2 separate regions of the Homo sapiens genome follow, and region 1 is linked to region 2. Evidence: promoter capture Hi-C in 16 types of primary human blood cells and fetal thymus (Javierre and others, 2016). All regions are on one chromosome and are shown on one strand. The core of a region is centred on a gene start or on the middle of the fragment in contact, and the rest is flanking DNA. Distances in the headings are between cores, read along the strand shown. Region 1 has its middle 15 kb from the start of CDC14A. Region 2 holds the start of RTCA (RNA 3'-terminal phosphate cyclase).

The links. Contacts are between HindIII fragments. The CHiCAGO score rates a contact against its expected background, and 5 or more counts as called.
Region 1: a fragment that was not itself captured here is called in contact with the fragment with the promoter of RTCA in region 2 in 1 of 17 cell types (erythroblasts); the score reaches 5.4 in erythroblasts.

The regions. Positions count from the first base shown.
Region 1 is chr1:100,335,258-100,339,230 of GRCh38, forward strand. No RefSeq gene overlaps it. Among named protein-coding and RNA genes, the nearest start is that of CDC14A, 15 kb to the right of the region's middle. The HindIII fragment of the contact is 1,198 bases long and covers 765-1,962 here.
Region 2 is chr1:100,263,649-100,267,584 of GRCh38, forward strand. It overlaps RTCA (RNA 3'-terminal phosphate cyclase), which reads left to right and starts at 2,568. Exons shown (of 11, transcript NM_003729.4): 1 at 2,568-2,772; 2 at 2,876-2,976. The coding sequence starts at 2,728. It overlaps RTCA-AS1 (RTCA antisense RNA 1), which reads right to left and starts at 2,526. Exons shown (of 3, transcript NR_110435.1): 1 at 2,356-2,526; 2 at 2,181-2,269; 3 at 1,094-1,599. RefSeq lists enhancers at 2,259-2,808, 2,377-2,736. The HindIII fragment of the contact is 11,806 bases long and covers 1-3,936 here.

The DNA of each region.
Region 1 (3,973 bases), core at 114-2,613, 70 kb after region 2:
AATAGTGGGTACAGAGCCTGATTAGAGTGTGTTAAAAACACAATGAGAGGAGAAGGATTAGAGGCAGAGAAGATAGAAAAATTTTGAGGAGTTTTTGCATGAAAGGCAACAGAAAAACCACATTCTATTTGAGAAAACGAAAGACAATTGTTCTTTCTGATTTTGATTTTCTGTTATCGTTGACACTGTATGCTCCCTTCCCCTTGGCTTCCAAGACTTCCACCTGCCAATATCTGCATCTTTGTGCCTAAGAACTTCTGAATCCTGCATGCACCAAAGGAAATGCTCAGAAATTAACACCCCTAGGAGCAGCCCTCCACCAATGGGTGACAGGAGTTGGTGGATAAATATCACAGCTCCTGTGGGGATAGTTCTTAGGCTCGTGGTTTTATATCACACCAAGCCAGTGGTAGCTAGGCTCAAGGACACACCCTCTATTAGTTGCCTTCACTTCCTTGCCCCATTTCTTCACTTCCCAGATGGTTTCCTTGTACATCCCAAATAAATTACTTGCACTTGAATTCTTGTTTCAAAATCTGCTTCTTGGGGAAGCAGATTTAAATTAATTTAAATCTTAATTTAATTTAAATTAAATTAAGACACTGTGTATTTAGGTTTAATCTAAAACTTAATAAAGCTCAAATGCACCATGCTACACAATAAATACTTTCAGTTTATAATTAGCATATTTGCAGTTAAAGGCCCCTTCTTAAATAATTTTGGGCAAATGCAACAAAGTCTTTAGAAAATGGAAAGACTCAGAAAGCTTCCTTTTGCAAGTAATTCCTAGGCTTCTTTTCTTTTTCTACCTGTGATAAATAAGAAATATGTGTTTGATCTTTGTCCCCAGTTCCTGACATGGAACTTCTAAAACCCTTGGAATTTCCTGAATGATAGGGGCGATAGTGTTACTATAGGTAGGCAGACAAGAGCAGGGCATGAGACCTCCCTACCCACCGCCCAACCAGGAACATCAGGTGACCATCAGATGATGGTCATGCAGTTGATAACTTTCTCTCTAAATAATCATTGATTGTAGCCAGCGCCAGGGAAAGGCAGTCTCTCAATAGATAGGAAACACCTGAAACTAGTGATTAGCTGCTTCCAGGTAAGATCTCAGAAGTTGGGTGGGTGGGCTCAAGCATGCACTTTAAGAGGCAAAATGGTGGAGTTTAAGCCCTCGACTGCTAAGGGAAAAATGCTTCAAATGAGCATGTGCACAATGTCAGTAAACACTGTGTGCATGCGGCCCCTCCCTACTGCTGGCAGGCCATTGTGCATGCGGACAGCCCACCCCAAGGGAAGAATCAGGGGAGAAGGATGCAACCCTCAGAAGCATGTCATCATATAAGACCCCAAGCCAAACATCAAACAGGGCATGGTGTTTGACTCTCTCATGTCGCCCACTTGGCCCTCTTCCAAATGTACTTTACTTTCTTTCATTCCTGCCTAAAACTTTTTAATAAACTTTCACTCCTGCTCTAAAACTTATCTTGGTCCCTCACTCTGCCTTATGCCCCCTTGGTCAAATTCTTTCTTCTGAGAAGGCAAGAATTGAGATTGCTATCTACCTGTATGAATTTGCTACCAGTAACATGCTTTGTTCCCGCAAGACTTGGATATGCTCCCTAGTGGTAAAAATAGGAGCATCTTTTGTTATTCATAATAAGCCTCTTCCAACCATACTAAGGTAACTTTTGGGGGACCCCTCAATAGCTTCAGGATAGGGGCTGGTTGTCAGAGCAACTAACCTTGTGAAACTTTCAGCCCCACCTCAGGACTTCTGGGGAGGAGAGAGAGAGGAGCTGGAGACAGAGTTCTATCACCGATGACCAGTGATTTATCAACCATGCCTACATAGTGGAACTGCCATAAAAACCCCTAAATGACAAAGTTTGAAGAGCTTCTGAGTTGGTGAACACATGAAGATGCTGAGAGGGTGGTGTGCACACAGGGCATGGAAGCTTTGTGCCCCTTCCTCCATACCTTTCCCTATGCCTCTTCCATTTGGCTATTCCTGATTTGAGTTCTTCATAATAAATTGGTAATTGTAAGTAAAATACTTTCCTGAGTTTGGTGGCCATTCTAGCAAATTACTGAATCTGAGGAAGGGGTTGTGGAAAACTCTGACTTATGGGTGATAGGTAATGGTGATGAAAAGAGTAAAATTCTGGAAAATATTTGAAGAGATTTATTCTGAGCCAAATCTGAGGACCAGGACCCATGCCATAGCCCCAGGGAGGTCCTGAGAACACGTGCCTGAGGTGGTCAGACTATAGCTTGGTTTTATATGTTTTAGGGAGATGTAAAACTTCAATCAATACATGTAAGATGTACATTGGTTTGGTCTGGAAACGCGGGGCAACTTGTAGGGAGAGGGATGTCCTAGGTCATAGGCAGATTCAAAGATTGCCTGATTGGCAATTGGTCGAAAAAGTTAAGTTATTATCTAAAGACTTGGAATCAGGATGGGCGCAGTGACTCATGCCTGTAATCCCAGCACTTTGGAAAGCCGAGGTGGGCGGATCACCTGAGATTGGGACGAGACCATCCTGACCAACATGGAGAAGCCCCATCTCTACTAAGAATACAAAATTAGCTGGGTGTGGTGGCACATGACTGTAATCCTAGCTACTGGGGAGACTGAGGCAGGAGAATCACTTCAACCCGGGAGGCGGAGGTTGCGGTGAGCCAAGATCGCGCCATTGCACTCCAGCCTGGGCAACAAGAATGACACTCCACCTCAAAAAAAAAAAAAAAAAAAAAAAAGGACCTGGAATCAATAGAAAGGAATGAAAGAGTGTCTGGGTTAAGATAAGGGCTTGTGGAGAACAAGGTTTTTGTCATGTAGAGGAAGCCTCCAGGTAGCAGGCTTCAGAGAGATTAGATTGTAAATGTTTTTTTTATCAGACTTAAAAAAGGTGCCAGACTCTTAGTTAATTCTCTCCTGGATCAGGGAAAAGACCTGGAAAGGGGGAGAGGATTCTCTACAGAAAGTAGATTTTCCCCACAATAGACAGCTTTGCAGGGCCATTTCAAAATATGTCAAAGAAATATATCTGGGGGTAAAATACTTTGATTCCTTTCAAGGTTAGCTATCTGTCATGTTGGTATCTTATTGCTACAAGAGTCTATTCGGTCAATCTTTAGGTCTCTGTTTCAATGTTAATACTGGTCAGTTGTACCTGAATTCTAAAGGGAGGAGGGTATAATGAGGCATGTTTGGACCCCTCCTTTGCCATCACAGCCTGATCTAGTTTTTCAGGTTAACTATGGAATGACTTTGGGTGAGAGGAGGGGTCCATTCAGTTTGTTGGGGGGCTTAGAATTTTACTTTTGGTAACCTGGGAACTTGCAACTGGCATCTGAAGTGACACAGTCTTGTGGTACTGAAGTTTTAACTTGTGAGATCTGATGCTAACTCCATGTAAATAGTGTCAGGTAACTCCAGGTAACTTCTGTGCTCACGCCAACTGGGTGTCCTACAATTAAGTTGAACTGTAGGAAACCCAATTGATGTGGGCAGAGAATTGGAGAATTGTTTGGTATGGAAAATTCCTACACATTTGATGTTGGAAATGTGAGTAGAAACAGTAGAGAACTACCAAAAACTAAATTATTTTTAAAAGCACATTTTTTCTGGCATTTTGATGGCATTAGCACACTATGAGCATTGCTGAATATGAGGATGAGAGCGAAAGTCTGATTTCATGCCAGGTATGTTAAATTTTGCATCTGTAATCTCTAATCAAATAAAGTCTAGGAAATTATTAATTACACAGTAATGCTTAGGGCTCATAAGTGATTTTCTTTTAAAAATACTTTATGAATGCTAATTATGCAACCTAGGATCTGTAAGGTAGACAGATTATTTTATGGTCAGAGTAGTTATTTAACTTCTCTTGAGAGACTGATTTCTCCCAATACAACACACTCAATTACTATTAAAATATGAAACTTCTTTATAAGTAGA
Region 2 (3,936 bases), core at 1,318-3,817:
CTGGAAATAGTTAGAATGGGGCAAATGGGTCATAGCTAGGAATTCATAGCCAAAATTAGAAATAAAAAGGCGAGGCTTCTTCTGGGAATGTTAAGTTTCTGTAATAAGAATCTAAGATGTGTTGCGGGAAGTCAGGGACCCCGAACGGAGGGACCGGCTGGAGCCACGGCAGAGGAACATAAATTGTGAAGATTTCATGGACATTTATCAGTTCCCAAATAATACTTTTATAATTTCTTATGCCTGTCTTTACTTTAATCTCTTAATCCTGTTATCTTCGTAAGCTGAGGATGTACATCACCTCAGGACCACTGTGATAATTGTGTTAACTGTACAAGTTGATTGTAAAACATCTGTGTTTGAACAATATGAAATCAGTGCACCTTGAATAAGAACAGAATAACAGCAATTTTTAGGGAACAAAGGAAGACAACCATAAGGTCTGACTGCCTGTGGGGTTGGGCAAAAACAGCCATATTTTTCTTCTTGCAGAGAGCCTATAAATGGATGTGCAAGTAGGAGAGATATTGCTAAATTCTTTTACTAGCAAGGAATATAAATATTAATACCCTGGGAAAGGAATGCATTCCTGTGGGGAGGTCTATAAACAGCCGCTCTGGGAATGTCTGTCTTACGCGGTTGAGATAAGGACTGAGATACGCCCTGGTCTCCTGCAGTACCCTCAGGCTTACTAGGGTGGGGAAAAACTCCGCCCTGGTAAATTTGTGGTCACACCAGTTCTCTGCTCTTGAACCCTGTTTTCTGTTATTTAAGATGTTTATTAAGACAATATGTGCACTGCTGAACATAGACCCTTATCAGTAGCTCTGCTTTTGCCCTTTGCCTTGTGATCTTTGTTGGACTCTTATAAGTAGTTCTGCTTTTGCCCTTTGTCCTGTTCCCTCAGAAGCATGTGATCTTTGTTAGACCCTTACTAGTAGTAAGGTCTTTTTGCCTTTTGAAGCATGTGATCTTTGTACTTTTGTACCTACTCCCTGTTCTTACACCCCCTCCCCTTTTGAAACCCTTAATAAAAACTTGCTGGTCTGAGACTCAGGCGGGCATCATGGTCCTACCGATATGTGATGTCACCCCCGGTGGCTCAGCTGTAAAATTCCTCTCTTTATACTGTCTCTCTTTATTTCTCAGCTGGCCAACACTTATGGAAAATAGAAAGAACCTACGTTGAAATATTGGGGGCGGGTTCCCCCAATAAAGATGTCAGATAGGGGTACAGCTTTTTTATATTCCATCCCTACCATCATTGCCTTACTTCAACTTCTGATTATTTCTTGCTGGATAATTGTATCATTGGCATTTCTCCCTTCAGGCTCTTAAGCCTCTTATTCACCCTTCTCCTACTGCCAAAGCCTTCATTTTAAAATGCAAGTATCATTACTTCTCTGATTAATATCTTACGGCAAATTCCAGATTTGGTTAAGTACATAGTCTGTGTGTTCCCTAAAACATTCTCTGTCGCAAAGCAGCAGAGCGTTGGGATTACCAGACAGTGGTGTTCACATCAGACCACCCAGGTTCACATCTCAGTCTTCTAGTTAAAATTGTGTGACCTTGTAGCAAATTGTTTAACACAGGAAGCTGTAAAACAGTAAAAACAGTAAGTACTTTATCATGTTATGAATGCATGCAGTGCACAACACCTAAGTGCTCAATAAGTGTTGCCTGTTATTGTTACAGTATATTATTAATATATTGTAATTGTCCCCATAATAAACTCTAAATACAGTACATGTTAATTATTATTGAGGATGACATTGTAATTGATTACGTCTCAGTCTCTCCATTATACCTCCAATAACTTCGGGGGTAGAAGCTGAATTACTCTTTTTTGCTTCCCTAGAGGTTTACATATTATTTGGTACTCAATTATGTAGGAACTGAGCCACAGGCAGAACCAAGAAGCTGGCTATTGCTTCTGCCCTCGCCTGAGGTGAATTGTTAGCTGCACTGTTCCTGGGAGTCAAGAGCTTGCACTCACTCTCAAGCAAAATGGCATAACTTTGGCTTTTCAGAATATTAAACTAGTGATTCTGCCTTTCCCGCCTCTCAAATAAATGGTGTGTCACCCTAGAAAGAAAGATAACACACTCCGCATACACAAACACGCACACCGCAAGGAACCAAAGGCCAAGAGTATCAATGTACCAGGGCGCACACACTTCGAGAGACAGGTTCGGTGCATCGCAGGATCCCAATCTTTCTTGCATCTTCAGCTCTAAAAGTCGGCACCTCGGGGTATGCCAGGATCCTCGAGAAAACAGATATAAACACATATTTACCCACAAAACAGAGATAAAGCACAAGCCTGCGGGATAACTGGAGGAGTTATCTTACAGTTGAGACTTTCTGCAACCTGCAGATTTTGCCGTGCCCAGGGCACAAGTTTTTCAGGGCTCCTGGGCACCCCCGCGACCGTCATCTCACTTCCCCGGCAGCTTCCTCGCCCCGACCGCAGTGTTCCCAGCGCGGCTCCTTTAAGCCGAGCTACGCGCATGCGCACTGACTGCGGAACTGGGCGAACCCGGGGGTTCGTTTCTGCTGACTCCAGTGTCCCGAGAGGCGCCGCTTCTTCCGCTTTCTCGTCAGGCTCCTGCGCCCCAGGCATGAACCAAGGTTTCTGAACTACTGGGCGGGAGCCAACGTCTCTTCTTTCTCCCGCTCTGGCGGAGGCTTTGTCGCTGCGGGCTGGGCCCCAGGGTGTCCCCCATGGCGGGGCCGCGGGTGGAGGTCGATGGCAGCATCATGGAAGGGGTGAGTACAGAGCGAAGCGGCCGGGGCTGCAGCCTAACTAAGGAGGGGAGCTCTCACCACCGGTGTGCTTACTTCTCTTCTCCCTGTACCCCAACCTTTGCAGGGCGGCCAGATCCTGAGAGTCTCTACGGCCTTGAGCTGTCTCCTAGGCCTCCCCTTGCGGGTGCAGAAGATCCGAGCCGGCCGGAGCACGCCAGGCCTGAGGTAAATCTGGCTGGAGGGGGAGTTGGGCCGTGAAGCTGGGGGATCGGGGGGTCGGGCTGCCGGGCTGGGGCATCGGGAGTCCGAGTGGTGGAACCCAGAAGGTCCCAGACGCAGGTATGGGCGATCCAGGGCGGGGCACTCTGCCTGGGCGGTGGCCTGGGTTGTAAAGTCTTGAAAGCCTGGAGGGGTGAGTTTAGAAATGGTCTCGAGTTTTCTCTGTTTGACTAAATAGTGTCATTTGCTGAAGAGCTAGCTTTTAAAATGTTTTCTCACCTCACCGGGCATTCCAAATATCCGAACAGCACGTATGAGCTGGCAAGATAGATAGGGCAGAAATGCTTGTGACGCCAGAGGAAACCCTGTTTTATAACCAGTGCATTCTGGTTCTGCTGTCAGTTTTAGAATCATAAAACAGGAAAGAATCCTGAGATGTGTTATCCCAGCCTTCATTCATACCTCCAGAGAGCTGTTATGACCAGAATTATCTGTTGTGGAGAGGGAAACACCTTGACATTTGACCTTATTTCTTCTGTCTGGGTAGCTGGGCATGCCACTAGTTGAGCTTCAGGTACATGCACCTGCTAGAAGAGGACCCAGGTTTGAAGCCACACTGATTGCTTTGTATGTATTCTGTATTTATTACATTTTAATAAATCAGCGGTCTCAGTCTTTTGTCTACAGTTTTGAAATTACCAAAAGGCAATTACTGATATGTTAATGTTAATTGCCTTTGTCATAGTTTGCAGCCCTCCAGTTCACCAACAGGGGAATCCAATTCATTAGGCTGTAGGTGTTGTATTAGTTTGCTAGGGCTGCCATAACAAAATGCCACACACAGAGTGGAGCTTAAACAACAGAAATTTATTTCCTCACAGTTCTGGAGGCTGGAAGTCCAAGATCAAGGTCCTGACAAGGTTGGTTTCCTCTGAGAGCCATGAGAAAAGGATCTGCTCCAGGCCT